Regions from separate parts of the Homo sapiens genome. Here region 1 is linked to region 2. The links are contacts of gene promoters, found by promoter capture Hi-C in blood cells and fetal thymus (Javierre and others, 2016). All regions are on one chromosome and are shown on one strand. Each heading gives the region's core, a stretch centred on a gene start or on the middle of the fragment in contact. The rest is flanking DNA. Distances are from core to core; before and after follow the strand shown.

Region 1 (4,746 bases), core at 1,840-4,339, 1.2 Mb after region 2:
GTGAGACCCTGCCACAAAAAAAAAAAAAAAATCTTGTTAGGAAAACCTGGACCACTGAAAATACACTAGAAACAACAGCTAAAGAAAACAGAACAAAGCCACATTTGATGTATGAAAATATATTCAACAACTACCTCAGTCAAGTTCATAGGGATACTGAGCAGACTCGAGCTTGATCAGAAATTCTCAATATTATTACTATATGGCTTACTAGGGCATTTAATAGATTTGAAGTTGGCTGGCTGCCGTGGCTCACGCCTGTAATCTCAACAGTTTGGGAGGCCGAGGTGGGAAGATCACTTGAGCCCAGGAGTTTAAGACCAGCCTGGGCAACAAAACAAGACCCCCCATCTCTACAAAAATAAATAAACTAATAAATATTTTAAAAAGAAGATATTTAAGGATAAACATTCCTCCTGTATGAATGGGTCCTGTATGTATGTATGTCCTGTATGAACACTTTGCACATGGAAGCAAAGGTGGACATTTACCAAGCTCCTCTCATGCTATACAGTTCATCATTTTGTCTTTAAGCTTAAAACTGAGACAATCTCTAAAATTCTTGCATCAGGGCTGCTTACTCAACTTAAAATAGTCACAGGGATCCTATGGCCAAGTCCTGGCACTGAGTACACGGTCATGTACTTCTCCAGATTCTAAATGATCTATTTTTGTGTTCTCTTACTCTCTGCTTCTATTTGGCTCAAAATTTACTGACACTTCAAAGGATATTAAATTGCATTTTTTTTCAGAAATGCTTCTCACTTTAGCCATATTGAAGGTATTTTCTGTCCTTCACAGGGAAGGGGAAATTTGCCCAGTGAAACTGATCTTTCCCTAAGTCCCTCCAGAAAAGCCACTGTCCTGATTTTCCTCCTGTCTCACTAGCCACCTTCTGGCTGGATACTCCGCTACTGACCTCCAAAATACACATTTATTGATCTTTGATTGAATAAACAGACCCTTCCTGACTACCTTGTAATTTCAGCAGCAAATATGACCCAAAACTGGAAGACCCTCTCAATCTATTCTGGTTTGAGGGCTGCCCAATTAAAAAGGAAAAAAACTGGCCCAAAATATCATTAAATGGTAAAATCAGGATCTTATCCTCATAAATCCATAGATTATTACATCCACTAGCGACCTAGAGACCACTTACCTTTTTTTTTTTTTTTTTTGAGACAGAGTCTTGCTCTGACACCCAGGCTGGAGTGCAGTGGTGTGATCTCAGCTCACAGCCGCCTCTGCCTCCCAGGTTCAAGCAATTCTCGTGCCTCAGCCTCTCCAGTAGCTGGGATTACAGGCATGCCCACCACCATGCCCAGCTAATTTTTTGAAGAAAAGAGGTTTCACATGTTGGCCAGGCTGGTCTCGAACTCCTGGCCTCAAGTGATCCACCTGCCTCAGCCTCCCAAAGTGCCGGGATTACAGGTGTGAGCCACCGCGCCTGGCCTGAGACCACTCACCTTAATGTGTCTAGAAAACAGGCAGGCCAGGCGCAGTGGCTCACGCCTGTAATCCTAGCACTTTGGGAGGCCGAGGCAGCCAGATCATTTGAGCCCAGGAGTTTGACACCAACCTGGACAAAATGGCAAAACCCCGTCTCTACCAAAAATACAAAAAAAAAAACAAAAAACAGAAAATAAAAACTAGCCGGGCGTGGTGGTGTGCACCTGTGGGAGACTGAGCTGGGAGGATCACTTGAACGGGGGAAGTGAAGGTTGCAGTGAGCTGTGATAGCACCACTGCACTCCAGCTTTGGTGAAATAATGAGACCTAGTCTTAAAAAGCAAGAGGCCGGGCGCGGTGGCTTACGCCTGTAATCCCAGCACTTTAGGAGGCCGAGGTGGGTGAATCACAAGGTCAGGAGTTCGAGATCAGCCTGGCCAGTATGGTGAAACCCCGTCTCTACTAAAAATACAAAAATTAGCTGTGTGTGGTGGAGCGCGCCTGTAGTCCCAGCCACTCAGAAGGCTGAGGCAAGAGAATCGCTTGATCCCGGGAGGCGGAGGTTGCAGTGAGCCGAGATCGCACCACTGCACTCCAGCCTGGGCAAGGGCGAGACTCTGTCTTTAAAAAAAGCAAAAGAAAACCAACTTGTAGAAAGTCACTGAGCTGGAACCAGAACTAGAATAGGGCTCTACTCTTTCTGGGTCCAAAGTTCTTTAAATCAGCAACCCCTCTTACTGCCTATGTAAGGGTATACCTTTAGTTCCTGTTGACTTGGGATGTACAAAGAATGAGGTAGTCTAAGAGAGTAACAGCACACTGGCTGTGGAGTCAGAAAGACTCCACCTCTAAACTTTGTTTCCATCTCTAAACTTTCCAGCAGTGTGGCCTAATTTTTCTGTACCTTAGCTTTGTCGTTATCACTAGAATCCTTCACAGGGCTGCAGAGTGGATTAAGCAAGAGTGCACAGGACTCAGACATATGACCGCTGGTAATTGGCTTTTATAAACTGTCAAAAAATATAGACCTGTAATGCCAGCACTTTGGGAGGCCGAGGCAGCAGACTGATTGAGCCCAGGAGTTCGAAACCAGCCTGGGCAACATGGCGAGACACTCTCTACAAAAAATACAAAAATAACCGGACATGGTGGCACGTGCCTGTAGTCGCAGCTACTCAGGAAGCTCAGGAGGCTGAGGCAGGAAGTTCGCTTGAGCTCAGGAGGTCGAGGCTGCAGTGAGCTGTGATCGCGCCAAATGCACTCTAGCCTGGGAAGCAGAGCCAGACCCTGAATCTAAAAAAAAAAAAAAAAAAAAGCTTATTAAAGGAGGCTTAGCACAGCTACCCGATGACGCCCCCGGGCATTGCTGTCGAGCCACAGGGAGCTGGCGCCACACGGGACTGGCGCTCTTTGCAACGTCCCTCAAGCACTTAAGGAGAGGCGGCAGGGCCCAAGCGCAGCGGCTAGAAAATCCTTCCTTCCGGCAGGACCCTCGCGTGGAGCTCTGCAGCGAACCCTGGCCGCGCGGCCTCCGCCGTCGGGCCCCACTCTTCCTACTGGGCCCACAGTTCCGGCTCCTGCTCTGACTCCAAGAAGCCTTACCTCGGGTACAACGCGCTGCCTTCTCCCTGGGAACTTCCGGCAGGCCAACTTCCCTGGCCTTTTTAGTCTCCCCTGTGCCCTCCCACTTCGCCCTCTGGTTCTCTCCCCGCCCCTGGCCCGAGGTCACGCCCTCACCGAGTCCTAGGACACGCCCCGTGGGTCCTTGCCAAGCCCTACCTCTTCGTAGGACACGCCCTTCAAACCCTTGCCACGCCCCACCCTGGTCCGGGGCCGTTCCCCGCGTTTTTGCCTGGCCACACCCTCCTGCAGGCGCTGTCTGACTGTCGGTAGTTTGGCTGAATGAAAAAAATTCGGGGCTAGATCCCCAAACGGAAAGAAACTGTTGCATTTTCCCCAGATCCCAGTTCTCCATAGAACAGTCTGGAACAAGGGAGCATTCCGTAGCTCTTTTGGTTTTCCCCAAGAATAAATCGGAGGTGGTGCTCTGGCAATTTGATGTCACAGTGGGTTCTGGATCCTCATGCTGCATACGGAGAACTTTGGTTTTTGTGTTCCCACTTGTCACTGTTTCCTGCCCCGGTGCCGCGTTTCCTTCTCTTTAGAATTAGAGTGCCGTGCTAGAGCACTTGAACTGGCCCTGGTACTTGCTGTGACTGAAATAAACTTAGTATGTGTGAGTCTGTTGGCAAAACATGATGCTTGGAGCAGCTGCCACAGTAAAGAGTCATACCTTTAGGTATTGTAGGGGGCCAAGGGCAAACCTCTCCTTCGTCCTCTGAAAGTTTGCTGAAAATCAACTGACAAAAGACAGTTTCACAGTAGAAAAGGCATACAAATATACTAGATCGTAACTTTATGTGATCCGGGAGCCTTCAGAATGAAAACCCAAAGATGCAGGGGAAACGGTCCATTTTTTCGCTTAGGTTCAATAAAGTATGGACCGCCATGTATTCAGCTGGTGCAAAAGTAATTGCGGTTTTTAATGGCAAAAACCGCAATTACTTCTGCACCAACCTAAGAGATACTACGATGGCATAAAAAGGGTCTGAGCTAATGCCAATAGACTAAGTGAGCAAGCCCTGTCTGTTTAGATTCTTTTTGGCTTTTCTGTGCAGTGTTCCTTCCTTCTGGGTATAGAGCAGGATCCTTTCTGGAATGGGGGTCTTATGACCTACAGTCAAACAAAGCAGGGCAGAGAATTTCTTTACCGCCAGTTTTGACACAGAAAGGCAGGGGACACGCAGAGTCAAACTTTTAGGTTTTATGCTTGGCTTTGGGGATGAGGGGTTCTGGCTTCTGTGAATCACCTTGGGGAAGAGGGATTCCAGTTTCTAGAATGAGGGGCCAGAGGCAGGAGGACATGAGGTTAGAGAGAGCTGCTTCTAAGGCCTTCATTTTGGGGTATCATTTTCTGAACCCCAACCATATTACACTGTCATCAATTATTATTATTATTATTTTGAAATGGCTCTGTTGCCCAGGATGGATTTCAGTGGTGCAGTCATAGCTCACTGCAGCCTTGAACTCCTGGGCTCAAGGGATCCTCCTGCCTCAGCCTCCTGAGCAGCTGGGACTACAGGTGTGCACCACCACACTCAGCTAATATTTGTAATTTTTGTAGAGATGGAGGTCTCGCTATGATGCCCAGCCTGGTCTCAAACTCCTAAGCTCAAAGGATCCTCCCACCTCAGCCTCCCAAAGTGTTAGGACTACATGCATAAGCCACAGCACAAG
Region 2 (4,652 bases), core at 268-2,767:
CACTGCTAAGATTCAGGACACTCATTTAAGGTGGAACAAAAAAGGTAGCATCTAGTAAGTGCCAACCACATAAAGGTACTGTAGCAGGCCCTCTAGACATATTATTTAACTGCAGAATGGAATGATGTGTTTTCCCCTCTTTAAAGACAAGAACACTGGAACTCAAAGAATTTAACTTGCCTATGATTTCACCGTGAGCTGAGAAGTGGCAGAGGTAAGGAGTGAACTTTTTTCTACTCTTATATAAACTTCCAAGTTTCAGTGACATGCTCTAAGGAAGAGTTTAAAAAGAAAAATTCAACATCCACCTTTCATAATTAAAATACACAAAGACAAGTAAATTCATAAGGTTGTCCTTATTCACAGTAATGATTACATTCTGCCATAAGGGATTTGGAAATGGTATTTGGCTTGCTTTCATTCCACACTTGTGTGCCAAGGTAGTTCCTACGTGCGTTCAAATTAAACCAAAATTCTCTCCCCGGAAACTCAAATTCCCATAATTATTATCTTCAAGTCAGAAAAAAATAAAATAAAATAAAATTAAAAACCAAAAGCAAACCTATTGAATTGACATCATCAGTACCTAATACCAGTGATTCAGAAAACAACAAAAATGTAGCATTTCAAACTCTTTCCAGATTCAACAACTTCTTCCACACTTCTTTACACCTTTTAAAGTGCAGAGACCTAGCCTAAGAGAGACATCCCAAAGGCTCAGGTCCTCAATTCGGTTTCAGTCGTTGCCAAGTATTTCATCTTCATCGCTCCTAACATGTTTGAGAGTCTACCCTTAACCAGAGCTCCCTCCTTCAGTTACCGTTACAAAAGATTTTAAAATCCTCTAAGGAACCTTACCTAAAACATTCTGCCAGTTCCAGACGCTCAACATTTATTTGTCTAGGCAAGCACTTTTGGTACAGGGTTTACAATCCTAATCTAGCCAACATACGCCTTAAGCCCTTCGCTGTTCTTCCAGAAGCACAGTCCCTGCACCAGATGCTACACCAGCTGCTCCTCCCAGGCCCTTTACACCAACCCATTCAGCAGTTCTTTGGCAACCTACAGTCCTAGCTCAAGGCCCATTTCACAGGATGAGTCCCATTTCTTTCAAAGAGGATGCGCCAAGCCCTCAACCTCCTCCCAGCTCTGAAGGAGGGAGCCTCAGGAAAGGGGAAGAGCGAGCTCTTCCTTGGCCCTGGCCCGAGGGTCCTGAATGCAGGCAGGGGCTGGCAGAGTGAGCGTGCAGTCCGGTGAGGAATGGGCAGGGAGAGGCAAAAACACTTACCAACATCCTGATCGAAGGGATTGGTGGCAAAAAGAGGCATCTCCGCTGCGTGCCGAGGTGTCCCCGGGGACTCCCTCTCGACAGCACGGGAGTCAGAGCTCGACGTAGGATGGAAGACTCCTCAGGCAAAAAGAGCAACAGAGACCGACTCTACAGGGTCCGCGACAGCTCCTCCTCTCACCCAACCCCACCAACCGCGGCAGCAGCTGCGGCGGCGGCAACAGCAAGGAGCCGAGGAAGCCCCCGCGCGGAGCTTGTCGGGAATCTGGGCGACCTTGGCGCTGCCTGTCTCAAAGCTGCCCCGAGCCTGCCCCATCGGTAAAGGCTGAACAGGGAGTCCCCTCTGCCTGACTCCTCTTTTAATTAGTCACACATAAGAGTGGAATTAGTTCTTGTGTTTTCTGCTTTTCCCTTGGCTAGGAGTCTCCGTAGGACGGGGTCCTTCAGGCGTGCTGAAGCCTACTAACAACCCCAGGAGTGACTGGGAGAGCCAGGAGAAAGAAAGCAGGTTGAGTTCGGGTCGAGCTGTGCGCCTTTTTTCCTCTCGCTCTCTCGGTTATCATAACCTTGTATTCCCTCTGGAAGGAAATGGAAATTCCTTTGGATCATCTTCTAGGTAAACAGTTTAATTAGCTGCGTGAGGTGACAAACTTGCTCGGATGAAGTCATGGGAGCTGAACGAATTGGCCTGAATCCCAAGAGGGGAGTGTTCAGGGCGCGCGTGTCCCTCGGAGAGGCTGAGGTAACGCTGGCTCCTTCCCGGGAGTCCCTGAACGCCCGGCTTTGGAATCTGCAGACAGCTCTTCTAGCAGGGCGTTGGCACCTACTGACTAACCGTGCAATCACTCAGCAGCTGTGATGGTTGGTGACATGTCTTTCACAGCCCAAGATAGCCTCCCTAGACTGAGCAAAAAAAAGAAAACAGAAAAAAACTGGAGCTAAAAGTTGATCAGTGAGTGATTCCTAGCAACCCAAAATGTTGGTTTATTTATTTTACTTATAAGTTTAGTTAACCAATAAAAATTATTCTCTGTGTGATGGAGAAGTTTTAAGGAGCATCTACTAGAGATGTTGCGTCCCACTTGGAACAAACTTAGTAAGCACATCTTGTACGTAAATGGAAATTATCCCGCAAATTACGGCATCTCCAAATGTAGCGTGGAAACTAATATTGACATGTCAACACAGGATTAATACATAGTAATCAAAGAGTGCTTAAAAATTCATTAAAAATGAAGTCCCACCTCTAAAAGTGAAATGTGCAAATTAAAGTAGCAGTTAGATAATGTTTTGTCATTTAGGTAAAAATTACAAAGAATCGGCCGGGCGCGGTGGCTCACGCCTGTAATCCCAGCACTCTGGGAGGCCGAGGCCGGCAGATCACCTGAGGTCAGGAGTTCAAGACCAGCCTGGCCATGGTGAAACCCCGTCTCTACTAAAAGTACAAAAAATTAGCCGGGCGTGGTGGTGCGCGCTTGTAATCCCAGCTATTCGGGAGGCTGAGGCTGGGAATCGTTTGAACCCGGGAGCGAAACTCCGTCTCAAAAAAAGAAAAAAATTGCAAAGAATCAGGGATGTGAGGAGTCAGACACTCACATACTGTTGGATGAAGTGTAAATACTGTATAATCTTCCTAAGGGAAATATTTGGAAGCATGTAAAAAAATTTTTAAAACCTTAGGACCCAGCAATTCCATTTCGGCAAATTAATCCTAAAGACATTCTTTTAAAACATGAACAAAGGTATACATGGCAACATTGTCTAAAGGATCAAAGCATTGCCAGCCATTAAATGTCCCACATTGAGTGATTGGACAAATTGCTTCACCTCTTGGTGTCTCAGTTTCCTCATGTGTAAGAAACAGGAATAATAGGGTTGTGAGGATCAAATGAATTAGTACAAGCAAAACGCTTATTACAGTGCCTGGCATAGAGTAAGCACTAAATAAGTGTAACTGATCACTGTAATTTACACTGGTCAGTTAAATCATAGTACATAAGATGTGAAAACTACACAGCCATTTAAGGTGCATAATACAGATTCATATTTACATAGACATCTGAATACACAAGTTTTCAGAAGGAAGTTACAAACCTTATAAAATTACAAATGCCCACAATTTTAAAAATCTGAAAGGAAATACATGAGAATATTATGACATGATTGTCTCTGAGTGGCAAGATTCTAGACAATGTTTTTGTTCTTTGTGCATTTTATTATTCAAAATATTTTAATGATGAGCGTGTATTCCTTTCAAAAGCAGAAAAAATGTTAAAATACAACAATGTCAAAAATGGTATGTTGGTACCACCAGTTTCTTAATGTTTTGAAGGGCCAATACCAAAAGCGTGCTTGTGTTTCATTATGACAAGTATAGAATTATTCGGAAATATCACGACTGATACGGAAGTCAGAACATTCCCTCTCAAAAATGTGCTTTGATTGCTGGGCTGACAGAATTAGGTGACAACTTGTTTACCTTAAGATCCTGAGCAGTGTCTTGGGCCATTATCATAAGTGCCTGAGCCAGATATTGGTGGCTCAGACTGGGTGTATCAGAGCCAGATATTGATGAAAATGCATTTGTACATGTTCTGTACTCCGGACTGAATTACTCTGTTGCCAGCAATAAGCCAGGGCACAAACTGTTCAAGCCTTGATTATCAATATGTGTGCACTGGGAGTAATACATACTAGTATTGAGAGCAGTATCCGTGCATTCTGACCTAGAATGACTTTAGCTGTGGGGGCAGGGGGGTCTCGATGATTAATGTGCTGTATAAATAATAAACATTTTTTAAATATAAAATTTTTAATATTTAACTTAAAAGACAAACATAAAAAGTGAAATGCTTTGTATTTTGTGGTTAACGTCCCTTATTATCCCTTTAAAATACTGAAATTCTATGAGTTTCACTTTTAGTATTACCACAGTTTTTAAAACGTTTTGAAGACTACATATCAATGGCATATTAAAATGTTTCTGTAATGTTGTATGTTTAATAAATTCTGTGGTTGTTTGTTAAATGTTATATCCCTTTATTCTCAGTTTGATTTTGAAAATTCATCTACATTAAAAACAAAAATACTGGCCAAGTGTGGTGGCTCATGCCTGTAATCCTAGCACTTTGGGAGGCTGAGGCAGGTGGATCATCTGAGGTCAGGAGTTTGAGACCAGCCTGGCCAACATGGCGAAACTCGGTCTCTACCAAAAATACAAAAACTTAGCTGGGCGTGGTGGTGGGCAGCTGTAATCCCAGCTACTCAGGAGGATGAGGCAGGAGAATCGCTTGAACCTGGGGTATGGAGGTTGCAGTGAGCCGAGATCGGGCCACTTCACTCCAGCCTGGGCGACAGAGAGAGA

What was found. Contacts are between HindIII fragments. The CHiCAGO score rates a contact against its expected background, and 5 or more counts as called.
Region 1: a contact is called between the fragment with the promoter of PTER here and the fragment with the promoter of STAM in region 2, in 1 of 17 cell types (naive CD8 T cells). The highest score is 5.9, in naive CD8 T cells.

The regions. Positions count from the first base shown.
Region 1 is chr10:16,435,353-16,440,098 of GRCh38, reverse strand. PTER (phosphotriesterase related) reads right to left here and starts at 3,089. Exons shown (of 5, transcript NM_001261836.2): 1 at 3,052-3,089. RefSeq lists enhancers at 2,495-2,544, 2,565-2,744 and a silencer at 3,165-3,214. The HindIII fragment of the contact is 4,684 bases long and covers 2,768-4,746 here.
Region 2 is chr10:17,641,016-17,645,667 of GRCh38, reverse strand. It overlaps STAM (signal transducing adaptor molecule), which reads right to left and starts at 1,517. Exons shown (of 14, transcript NM_003473.4): 1 at 1,289-1,517. The coding sequence starts at 1,328. It overlaps STAM-DT (STAM divergent transcript), which reads left to right and starts at 1,750. Exons shown (of 1, transcript NR_110370.1): 1 at 1,750-4,384. RefSeq lists enhancers at 1,503-1,622, 1,773-1,842, 1,265-1,914, 1,915-2,563. The HindIII fragment of the contact is 8,791 bases long and covers 1-4,652 here.